Regions from separate parts of the Homo sapiens genome. Here region 1 is linked to region 2. The links are contacts of gene promoters, found by promoter capture Hi-C in blood cells and fetal thymus (Javierre and others, 2016). All regions are on one chromosome and are shown on one strand. Each heading gives the region's core, a stretch centred on a gene start or on the middle of the fragment in contact. The rest is flanking DNA. Distances are from core to core; before and after follow the strand shown.

What was found. Contacts are between HindIII fragments. The CHiCAGO score rates a contact against its expected background, and 5 or more counts as called.
Region 1: a contact is called between a fragment that was not itself captured here and the fragment with the promoter of FBXO34 in region 2, in 1 of 17 cell types (fetal thymus). The highest score is 8.2, in fetal thymus.

What each region holds. Positions count from the first base shown.
Region 1 is chr14:56,120,319-56,125,100 of GRCh38, reverse strand. All of the region lies in intron 1 of PELI2 (pellino E3 ubiquitin protein ligase family member 2), which reads right to left. Among named protein-coding and RNA genes, the nearest start is that of PELI2, 4.3 kb to the right of the region's middle. The HindIII fragment of the contact is 2,434 bases long and covers 1,453-3,886 here.
Region 2 is chr14:55,267,990-55,273,061 of GRCh38, reverse strand. FBXO34 (F-box protein 34) reads right to left here and starts at 1,641. Exons shown (of 2, transcript NM_017943.4): 1 at 1,525-1,641. It overlaps FBXO34-AS1 (FBXO34 antisense RNA 1), which reads left to right and starts at 984. Exons shown (of 2, transcript NR_184222.1): 1 at 984-1,180. RefSeq lists a silencer at 1,090-1,589. The HindIII fragment of the contact is 2,090 bases long and covers 119-2,208 here.

The DNA of each region.
Region 1 (4,782 bases), core at 1,420-3,919, 850 kb before region 2:
TTGTTGGGCTGCAGCCTCAGTTTCTCCTTCCAACTCCACTGTGCCTTCCAACTCCACTCTGCAAAGAGCAGAGGGCTTTCTTCACTCCCATCTCATACTAGCAAAACCCTGAGACAGTCTCCTGTGCTCTTAGGGTAAAGTCCAAACCCCTTCCAATATCTTATAAGCCCTTCATGATATCCCCCCATCATCATCCCTCACAATGTTTCATTCAATCATTCTTTCCTAGCCATAAAGAGTGTTTCTCTGTTCCTCAAAGTAGCTGCACGTTTTCATCTCTAGGTTGCAGAATACTCCAAACCTTCTTCGGAAAGCACTCCTTCCCTCTTATCTCCATCGTGGTCATCCCCATCTCATCCTGGCACATGGCTAGGGGACCCTGCTAACACATCCACCATCCCAGCCTTCAGGTCTTCCAGCTAGGCTGTCAGTGCTGCAGCAGCAGGGACCATGACTGTCTTGTTCATCTGCGTATCCCTTAGTGCAATCCACAGCATCTGACAAGTGGCAGATGCTCAAATATTTGGGGAATAAATAAATGAACCATGTATCAGTAACGGTTATTCACAAAGAGGCTGGGACAAAAATAAGAGAGCAGTTCACCAGGAAAAGGAATGTGTCTGCCTTGTCCTAGCTGTATTCCTCATGCCTGGAAGAGTAGACAGCCAATAAATATTTGCTGAATGCATACATTCCTGGCTTGCCTGATGTAACTCCACCCCTTTCTCTCCCACTTGAGAAAACACATCAGAATGCAAAAGGGTGAAAAATGACATTATTAACATGACATATCTGAATCATTTGAAAGATCCACACTTTATTACTTGTCATAAATTACTGGCCACATACCCTCAAGACTGATCATCACATATGAGGTACTTGAGACAGTGGTTGAGAACAGGTGATTTAGACAAAGCTAAGAAATATGAAGCACTTTCTGCTCTTATTATTTTATTTTCCAGAAGATGAAGGTGACAATAAGCTCAGTAAGAACTAATAACTGAATTATTCTAACCTTTACTTTTCTTTTTATAAAATAGATTTCTGCACACCCCAGGAGAAACGTTTAATTAAATCAAAAGACATTATAAATTCCTTTTCACAGTTATTTTTCTCCCATACCAATGAGGTCTACCAAGTTGCTGTTGTCTCCATTCAAAAGCCAACCTACAACCCCATATACCTACTTTCAGGAAGGCCACACTGCAAGCCCTGCACAGCAGATATAAAACCAGTGCTCCAATGTGACAATATTGGTCTTCCTCAAATATAGCAACGGCTATTTTGTTTTGTTTTGGTCCTTTGTGCATAAGTATTTTATCTTTTCGATAAAATGTTTGGTAAAATTACTGAACCTGAATCAAGCCTGTTTTACTTTCATTTATACACAGCATCCCCAAATATTGATCACAGGATGAAACACAACCAGAAATGAAAAGACCTAATGAAGCTTTCAGTCTTGGTGTGTTAAAGAGAGAAATAAATAAATCTGAGAAAGCCAGACCAGAAACCACACAGCAACACAGACAGCCACATATTCCAAACAAGGCTAAAGTTAGTAAAGGAAAATATAGCAACTCAAAGCCAGTAACACCGTAACCCTTAATAGCCCACAGAATTAGACACTCCATCCACACAAACAGATCTGAGCTCTTCAGATCACCCCACATGCTGAGCTACAGTAAAGATTTTGTTTTATAAATTTTTTTAAAGTTCAAAGACCTTTTAGTCTATAAAAGATACTAATGTTTGATGTCTTTGGGCCCAAATTAGAGTGGAGGATGAGAAAAGGAAAAGTGTTAGGGTATATTTGAAGGTTTCTTATTGCCACCAAAGGGTGGAGTAGTCAAGGCAAAGTGCTGAGGTTACAGCAACAACAAAAAGCATACAGAAAGTGGGACCTGCTTTTAAAAAAAAAAAAAAGACCATAAACTCTACAAGCTACTATACCCCTCTTTGTCTTACCTAACAAAACACTGAATCATCCAAAGGAAATGAGGCAGGTATCTACCTCCTTTTGTAGAGCTTATCAATTTCTACTAAAATACTTCATTTTTCAGTCATATTTAGTCATATTTATAAATTTTCATTTGTAGAGGTTCTTACCCTCTTTTTGTGCCAAGAATCCCTTTGGCAGTTTGATGACATGTAATGAGCCCTTCTCAGACTAATGTTTTTAAACATACAAAATAAAATACAAAGGATTACAATTGGAATCACTTATACTTAAATATCAAAAGTCTTAAATTGCTATACACATGTGCACTTCTGTAATAATGCATTAAATAACAAAATCTAGCAGCAAGTCTTTTTGTTGCCTACACTCATAAGTGAATGAAAATGCTAAACTGCAGTTTGAATATCATGAAAATCAAGACATGTTTTTCCCCCATCTAAGTTCAAGAATGTCCCGAACTCCATCTGTGGACCCTAGGTTAAGAACCCTTGGTTGAGAGAGCCAATAAAAATACATTTTGTGAAGCATCAAAAGAAAAAAAAAAAGTCTTGCAAAATGCATTATCCATTCAACTGTGAGGTGAGAGGAACTAAGAGAGTAAGCAATATTTTTCCAAAAACCACCATGGGCCATTAGTCAGCAAGAGAGCCACATGCTTCAAATTGAATCCAGAAAGGATGCTTTGAGGAACTGACAGCGCTGCTGGAATCTGTCTTAAAGTGAGGAAAGGGTAGAGTAGGGGAGTACAGCCACCCAGCTCAGCCCAGATCAACTATGAACTTGAACCTCTCTTGTTCTGGGAGCCTGTGTCCTCAAGAATAAAATATAAGGGCTAAACATATACCATGACCATTAGGCCCCCTTCCAGTCCTAATTTTTTTTTATTATACTTTAAGGCTGGAATACATGTGCAGAATGTGCAGGTTTGTTACATAGGTACATACGTGCCATAGTGGTTTGCTGCACCCATCAACCCATCATCTACATTAGGAATTTCCCCTAATGCTATTCAGTTCTAAATTTTTATCATGAGATCATCTCCTCTTTATGCTGGTTATTTCAGTCTATTTAGCTAAATTTCAAAACATCACTGTCTTTCTTAAACTTGGAACATAAAGTTTTACACAATTTAAATGCTCCCATGGGTAACCTAACACCAATGAGTCAAACAGATGTATATCATTACAACTTTTTTAAACATTCTGTTTTTACGCACATCTTCATAAAAAACAACCACAGCATTGATCTTTTCTGCTATTAAAACAACTGTCAGGGAACTTAGAATATGTAACTAAATAGTTTCTACATTTGCGCCAATGAACAGAATTACTGAGCACAGACCAGGAAGGGCTCTTGAAGCCTACCTAATCCAATCATATTTTGCAAATTGATAAAGAAACAGAGAGGAGGAGGAGGAATTAAGCCAAAGTCACAGAGCCAGTCAGCAAGAGAGAAGGGCTTATTCAGGTCACCCACCTGTAAATGCATGTTCTTCCCACTATACCAAACTGCCTCTCAAATCCTGAGCCACTTCCCTAACCTTAAAACGTAAGTTTAAAATTATAGCAAAAAGACCTGCTGGTTAGACCAGTCATTTTTCTCTACCTTCAGTTAAGTAGTGGACACAACAAAGAGTTGTGGCTATGATACATTAACTGGCTGGAATCATGAAATAATTAAATTCCACTAATCAGCCCAGAAAGTGATGAGCTCACTAAAATCCTAGCTATGTGGAATCTCTTAATAATACTGTGTAACACACAAAAAGATATAGAAGTATTTAGATATGGATATAGACATCTATCAGCTCTTCATTCTGCTCTCCAGGATTTCCTAGTAATGTTTCACTATGACATTCGAAAGTGAGCAAAAAGGACAGTCACATAACCATTAAAAAAAAAAAAAGCACTGAATTTGACAAGCAAAGCTTCTATCAATACCAAATATTAGGCATTTTTAGATCTCAGGAATCATCTCATTATTCAGAAAATCTACTTGAAATTTTCTGTTTTCCAATATTTATACCCCAGAGGACATAAAGATAATATCATAAAGATGATATTAATTCTATGTGAATGTTATTGTTGTTTTAAGATGAAGTACACTGTCTCAAATCCTAAGGGTGGAATATGAATAAGGTTCTCTCTAAAAATCTTCCTACCTAGTCACTCTTTCACCTGCACTCTTCAATGTGTTCAACATTGGTAAACAGTCAGAAACCTACCCTCGAAAAAAGAAAAATACCACAATTCAAGTATTCAAAAACCAGACTAGCATCCTCTACTCACATTTCACCTCCTCAGAGAGAACTTCCCTCACCTTCCAGCCGAAGAAACCAATACCCACCTAAGCAGTCACTCTCCAAGTTTATCAACTCCTCTTCAGAACTTGGCTGCACCTGAAATTGTCACTTATTACTCCTCTATTTGCATGTTTCTTTCTGTTTATGCCTGTCACTCCACTCTAAAAGGAAAGTTCCCTGTTCTCACTGCATCAGCAATGCCTAAACAGCACAGGCACAGAGTAGGTACACAAACGACGGTTGAGTGTCTCGCCCCCTAAGTGCCAACTATGTCATACTTTGGTCTCCTGGAAAAGCATTAGCAAAGGGCAGACCATATGCAACTGCAACGTTATATCCCGGGCTCCTGTGGAGTGAGACTATGATACTAGGACAATCCAGGGTTTCAATCCTTTCCGTGGCTTCGGAATGCCCTGCACTTCCAGCTATGAACACAAAACCTCTCCAGGCCCACTCGCTGCTTTTCTGAAACATCTCAACAATGATTTCCTCAAAAGGAAATAATGAAATAAAGTTCTGGCAT
Region 2 (5,072 bases), core at 392-2,891:
CCATTTACATTATTCTACAGAGGAGGAAATGAAAAGTACTGATATGCTGGAATACCCGAAGAGGGTCACTATGACAAAGTGACTAGCTTCTCTTCCAGTTAGATCTCTTCTGAAAGCTTTGGAAGAAAAACAGTATTCACAGACAAATCATTTTTTTATTCTCTAATTTCATATTTAAAAGCACTACAGACAAAATTTTAGTTACCTATCCAGACAAGCGGTCCTGGAATATGTTTTTATATTAAGTTATAGCCGGGTCTCAGTAAGAAAGCAAGAAAACAGCTTGTTGCTGACTTCTAAACCATGGTAGCATGGGGTGGTAGCATGGTACCATAGGGTGGGATAGGGACAACCTGGATAAATTAACTCCTCAGGTAATTATTATTTAAGACAAATGTTGGATTAATTCAAACTCCTCCCTCCCTTTACAACAGAAAAAAAAAATCATGTAAGATCCACTCTCCCTCCTCCTGGCCATTTTCTAACAAAAAATGCTAACAAGCAGATAGATGTCCAGTTAAAAAAAAAAAAAAAAAGCAAACTGATTTATCAACACTAGAAGTGGTTCTCTTTTTTTTCAGTAATTCTGATTGCAAACTATCAAACTACGAATTTAGCTTCCTAAAAGGCTTTTTACATTACACCCTCCAAAAAACCTCCTACCCTGACTTAAGTTTTTCTAAATCAAATGTCTTATACTGAGCTGTACTCGCAACGCTTGCTGGACAAGAAGTTAAAGAAATTGACAACTATTACATTAAAATTGCAAAATGCTGATACCGAACAACTTTCGATTCAAATCCACTGCGATTCCAAGCGTTCGTGGAAGACAACTTCCTTTTTCTACCCTGCGGGTCCCCCCGGCCCTTCCGTGAGCCCAGGTCCCCGCCCGGGCCTGCAGTGACATCCCAGGACCCATCTTCTGACGTCACAGACACACGGACCCACAGCCCTATGACTTCATCGTGGACTGAGGACGAACCGCAGTCGACTTGCGCCAGCCCAGAGGCTGGGGAGGCGTCCGAGCCTCCGTCCCGCCTCGTCGTTGAAGAAGGTTAAGGACAAGCGCCAGCTCACCTGCGCTGGGGCAGGGAAGGGCAGAGTGGCCGAGCCCGGGAGGGCGCGACAGGGGCGAGGCGACCCCAGTCCAGAGGCTGACTTCCTCACCGCCCTGGGTCCCGTAAGTGGGAGCGCCGGTCCGGTGCAAGCTCACGGCCTATCCGTGAATCTCCTCGGCTTCAGCGGGGACCCAGGACCCCGCTCCCTACCCGCCCGACCCTCCGTGGCCCGCGGGGACGCTCAGCGCCCGGGCCGTGCGCGCGGAAAGAGCCGCACCGGAGGAGGCGCAGGCGGCCGGGTCCCTACCCCGGACCCGCGGGCGGCGCCCCCGCCCCCACCCCCACCCGCCCCGCGCCCCGGGAGCGCAGGCAGGCGGCGGTAGGGGGCGGGGAGCGGCCACGGTGGCCGCCGCCGGACCCCAGTCGCGCGGCCCTCGCGCCACGCCCCACCTCGGCCCGGACCCACCTGCGCTCCTGCCCCGGCCGCGGCCTGGCCCGGGGCTGCACCAGCCCGACGCAGTGGTGGCGGCAGCAGCGGTGGCGGGAGGCCTGGCTCACTCCCCACCGCTGAGTCGGACCGAGCACCCAGCGCGGCGCGGCGGCGCCCAACGCTCGCCCCGAAACCCATTTGTTTGGCTAAAACGGAGTGACGTCACGCGCCGGCCCAATCGACGGTTGGCCGGGGGAGGGGCCACGGATCCAGAGTTTCACGGCGCCCCCTGCCGGACACTGGGGGCGGGAAGGGGGAAGTGAAAAGGGAGACCTGGATGACGCGTCTGCGGCCCCCAAGTGGTAGAGAATGAAAGTTTGAGCACGACTGTAGGGAAAGGAATCAAACCTCCCAGGCCAGCCAAGAAGGGTAGTGACGCCAGGGTTCAATCAGCAGACATGTCAAGTTTATGAATATTCGTGGGTGGACCTGAAGCTGTAAATGGTCTCAGATACTATTAGATAACCTAGTAGACCTGGATCCTCATACTGGTTCTGCTGCTAGCTTGGAAGGCTGGGGTTCAGAGTTTCAATTTGTAAAATGACAAAATTGGAAAGGTCCCTTCTGACTCTCTTTCCTATGAAAATCATGGCAGGGATACCGGTCAGAAAGTAGATAAACGTTGAGGCTGACACGAAACTGTTAAAGTCTGTAGAAGCTTAAGGGCTGGTTAATGATGGATATAAATTTTTAACACTTTATATTCAAATCAGAGGGCCAGTGAGGAACTTTTGATTCCCAATCTTTAAGCTTATTATTGTTTTCATTGTGAAAATAATATTAACCACATTGAAAAACATGAGGACAATGTATTTTCTTCTAGACCTTTTGCCCCATCACATATATTTTACTACACTGTAATAGTAGTTGTACGCGATTTTGCATCCTCTTTTCACTTTTATAAGCATTCCTCATATTTCCACATAAGCTTCATAACCAGTTTAACAGCTGCATAAAATTACATTAAGTGGACATAAAATTTACTGCAGTAATTCTCTATTTTTGGACATAACTTGTTTCCTTCATTCACTTTTTGCCATTATAAAGAAATCATAGAACATCTTCATGAATGTAGATTTTTAAAGATACCCAAAAGTGAAATTACTAGGTGAAAAAGACTATCAACACTTTCACAGTTACTAATACAAACTGCCAAATGATTTTTAAAAGGTTGTACCAAGTTACACTTAAACCAGCAACTTTGATTTTAGCCAGTCCTTAACAAAAATAATTTTGTCCAATTATAAAACTACTGTTGTAAAATATATGTGTAAAATCTTAAATATTAAAACGTAAAAACAAAATAAAAATATTTCCCATAATCTCATCACCAAGAAATAACCACTCAGTATCTCCATCTAGACCTTTATCTATATACATATTTTTAATAAAAATTGGAGAGGGGAAGTCCAGGCACGGTGGCTCACATCTCAAAAAGGAAAAAAAAAATTAAGGAAGGGTGTTATATGGTACACCGTGGCATCAAACTGTATGTCTGATTTAATATGTGAGCAATATTAGCTCAATATATCATGATCATTTGAAGCTTCTTTATGTCATAGTTAGCTCAAAATTGTAAAACTTCAGTTTATCCTTTCAGATTCATCTCAAACACTGTCCTTCTTAAAACCTCTTGATTCCTTCTGGGCATGGTGGCTCACGCCTGTAATCCAAGCACTTTGGGAGGCCAAGGCATGCAGATCATTTGAGGTCAGGAGATCAAGACCAGCCTTGCCAACATGGTGAAACCCTATCTCTACTAAAAATACAAAAATTAGCCCGGTGTGGCAGGGCACGCCTGTAGTCCCAGCAACTTGGGAGGCTGAAGCAGGAGAATCGCTTGAACCTGGGAGGTGGAGTTTGCAGTGAGCTGAGACCACACCACTGCACTCCTAACTGGGCGACAAGAGTGAGACTCCATCTAAAAAAAAAAAAAAAACAAACAAAACTTGATTCCTGTTGATTAGAGGACTCAAAAAATTGATATAAAAATGAAATTAATTTTAAAAGACATAATAAAAGCCCGAACTATTAATTATTATATTTTTTCATCTTTTTCTTGAGGCAGGGTCTCACTATGTTGCCCAGGGTGGTCTCAAACTCATGGCCTCAAGCAATCCTCCTTTCTCAGCCTCCCAAATAGCTGGAATTACAGGAGTGAGCCACCATGCCTAGCCTATGAATTATTGATTATTAAAGTCCACAGACATAAAATTATTCTGTCAAATTGCTAGTAAAGTTTCTAAAATCTGATTCTCAATTTCAGTTCTTGTCTCAGATTGGCCAGTGAACCACACTTTAAATAGCCCCAGTCTAGGAGAAAAGAACTAGGAGAGAGCATAACCATGTTAGGCAAGAACTTCCCTTGATTTTGTTTCTCCATTTGTATAATGGCAATGATCCCCTAGAAGCAAAGCCAGTAGAGCCAGTATAGTTTATCAACCCACAGGTCCTGTGGTAGGTCTTCAGGAAGGTGCTCCCCAGGTGGGCATGGGGTGGCACATTGAGGCCATGGGACTGGTGAGAGCCGAAAGAAGAACAAGACTGAGGTGGCACAGCAGCAGAAAAGTTCTAAATATATATAGTATATATATTTGGTTATTCCATTAGTAATTAAAACTTAGTTGTTTCAAGCCAGCAAACATATTAATTAAAACTCAGTTCAAGGGATTTGTCTTGTATAGACTTGGTTTCATTTCTGTTCTTTGCTCAGAAAAAAAAAAAAAAAAAACTAAGAACTTACTGCTTATTCCTTAATAAGCTTACTCCAACCTCCAAATAAAAACACCCACTGCTATGGTTTGAACGTGTCCCCCAAAGTTTATGTGTTAGAAACTTAATCCTCAATGCAACAGTGTTAAGAAGCGGGACCTTTAAGAAGCAATTAGGTCATGAGGGCTCCGTCCTCATGAATGGATTAATGCCATTATCAAGGGAGTGGATTACTTATCAAGAGAGGGAGTTACTATAAAAGCAAGCTTGGCCCTCTCTATCTCTCACTCTGTTAGGTGTTCTCTTGCTCTTCCACCTTATACCATGGGATGATGTAGCAAGAAGCCCCTCAAGAGTTATGAACCCCTTGACCTTGGGCTTCCCAGGCTCCAGAACTGTAAGAAATAGATCTCTGTTCTTTATACATGACCCAGTCTCAGGTGTTCTGTTATAGTAGCATAAAACAGACTAGGACACCCACCATTTCATCTTCTCTCTCTCACCCCCCAACCCTCCTTATCAAACTTACTTCCCCGCTGCTGGAGAAAGGAAACCAAGAGACAGGCTCCATTAGACTTTGCATCTAGACCTACTTTGCTGCAGAACCTAGGCCGCTGGGTGTGATAATGCCTTTCCCTACCTACTTGACTGTGTTATTATAAAGACCAAATAAGAAAAGAGAAGCAGAAGTGCTTTTAAAAGTTTCAACTTTGCAAAAGTAAAGCATGTACTTAAAAAATATGCCTGGAATGTGGCCGTTGGAGCATGCTTCAAGCCCTGAGCTTATGCCCAGGTTTATGCATGTGTGAAGC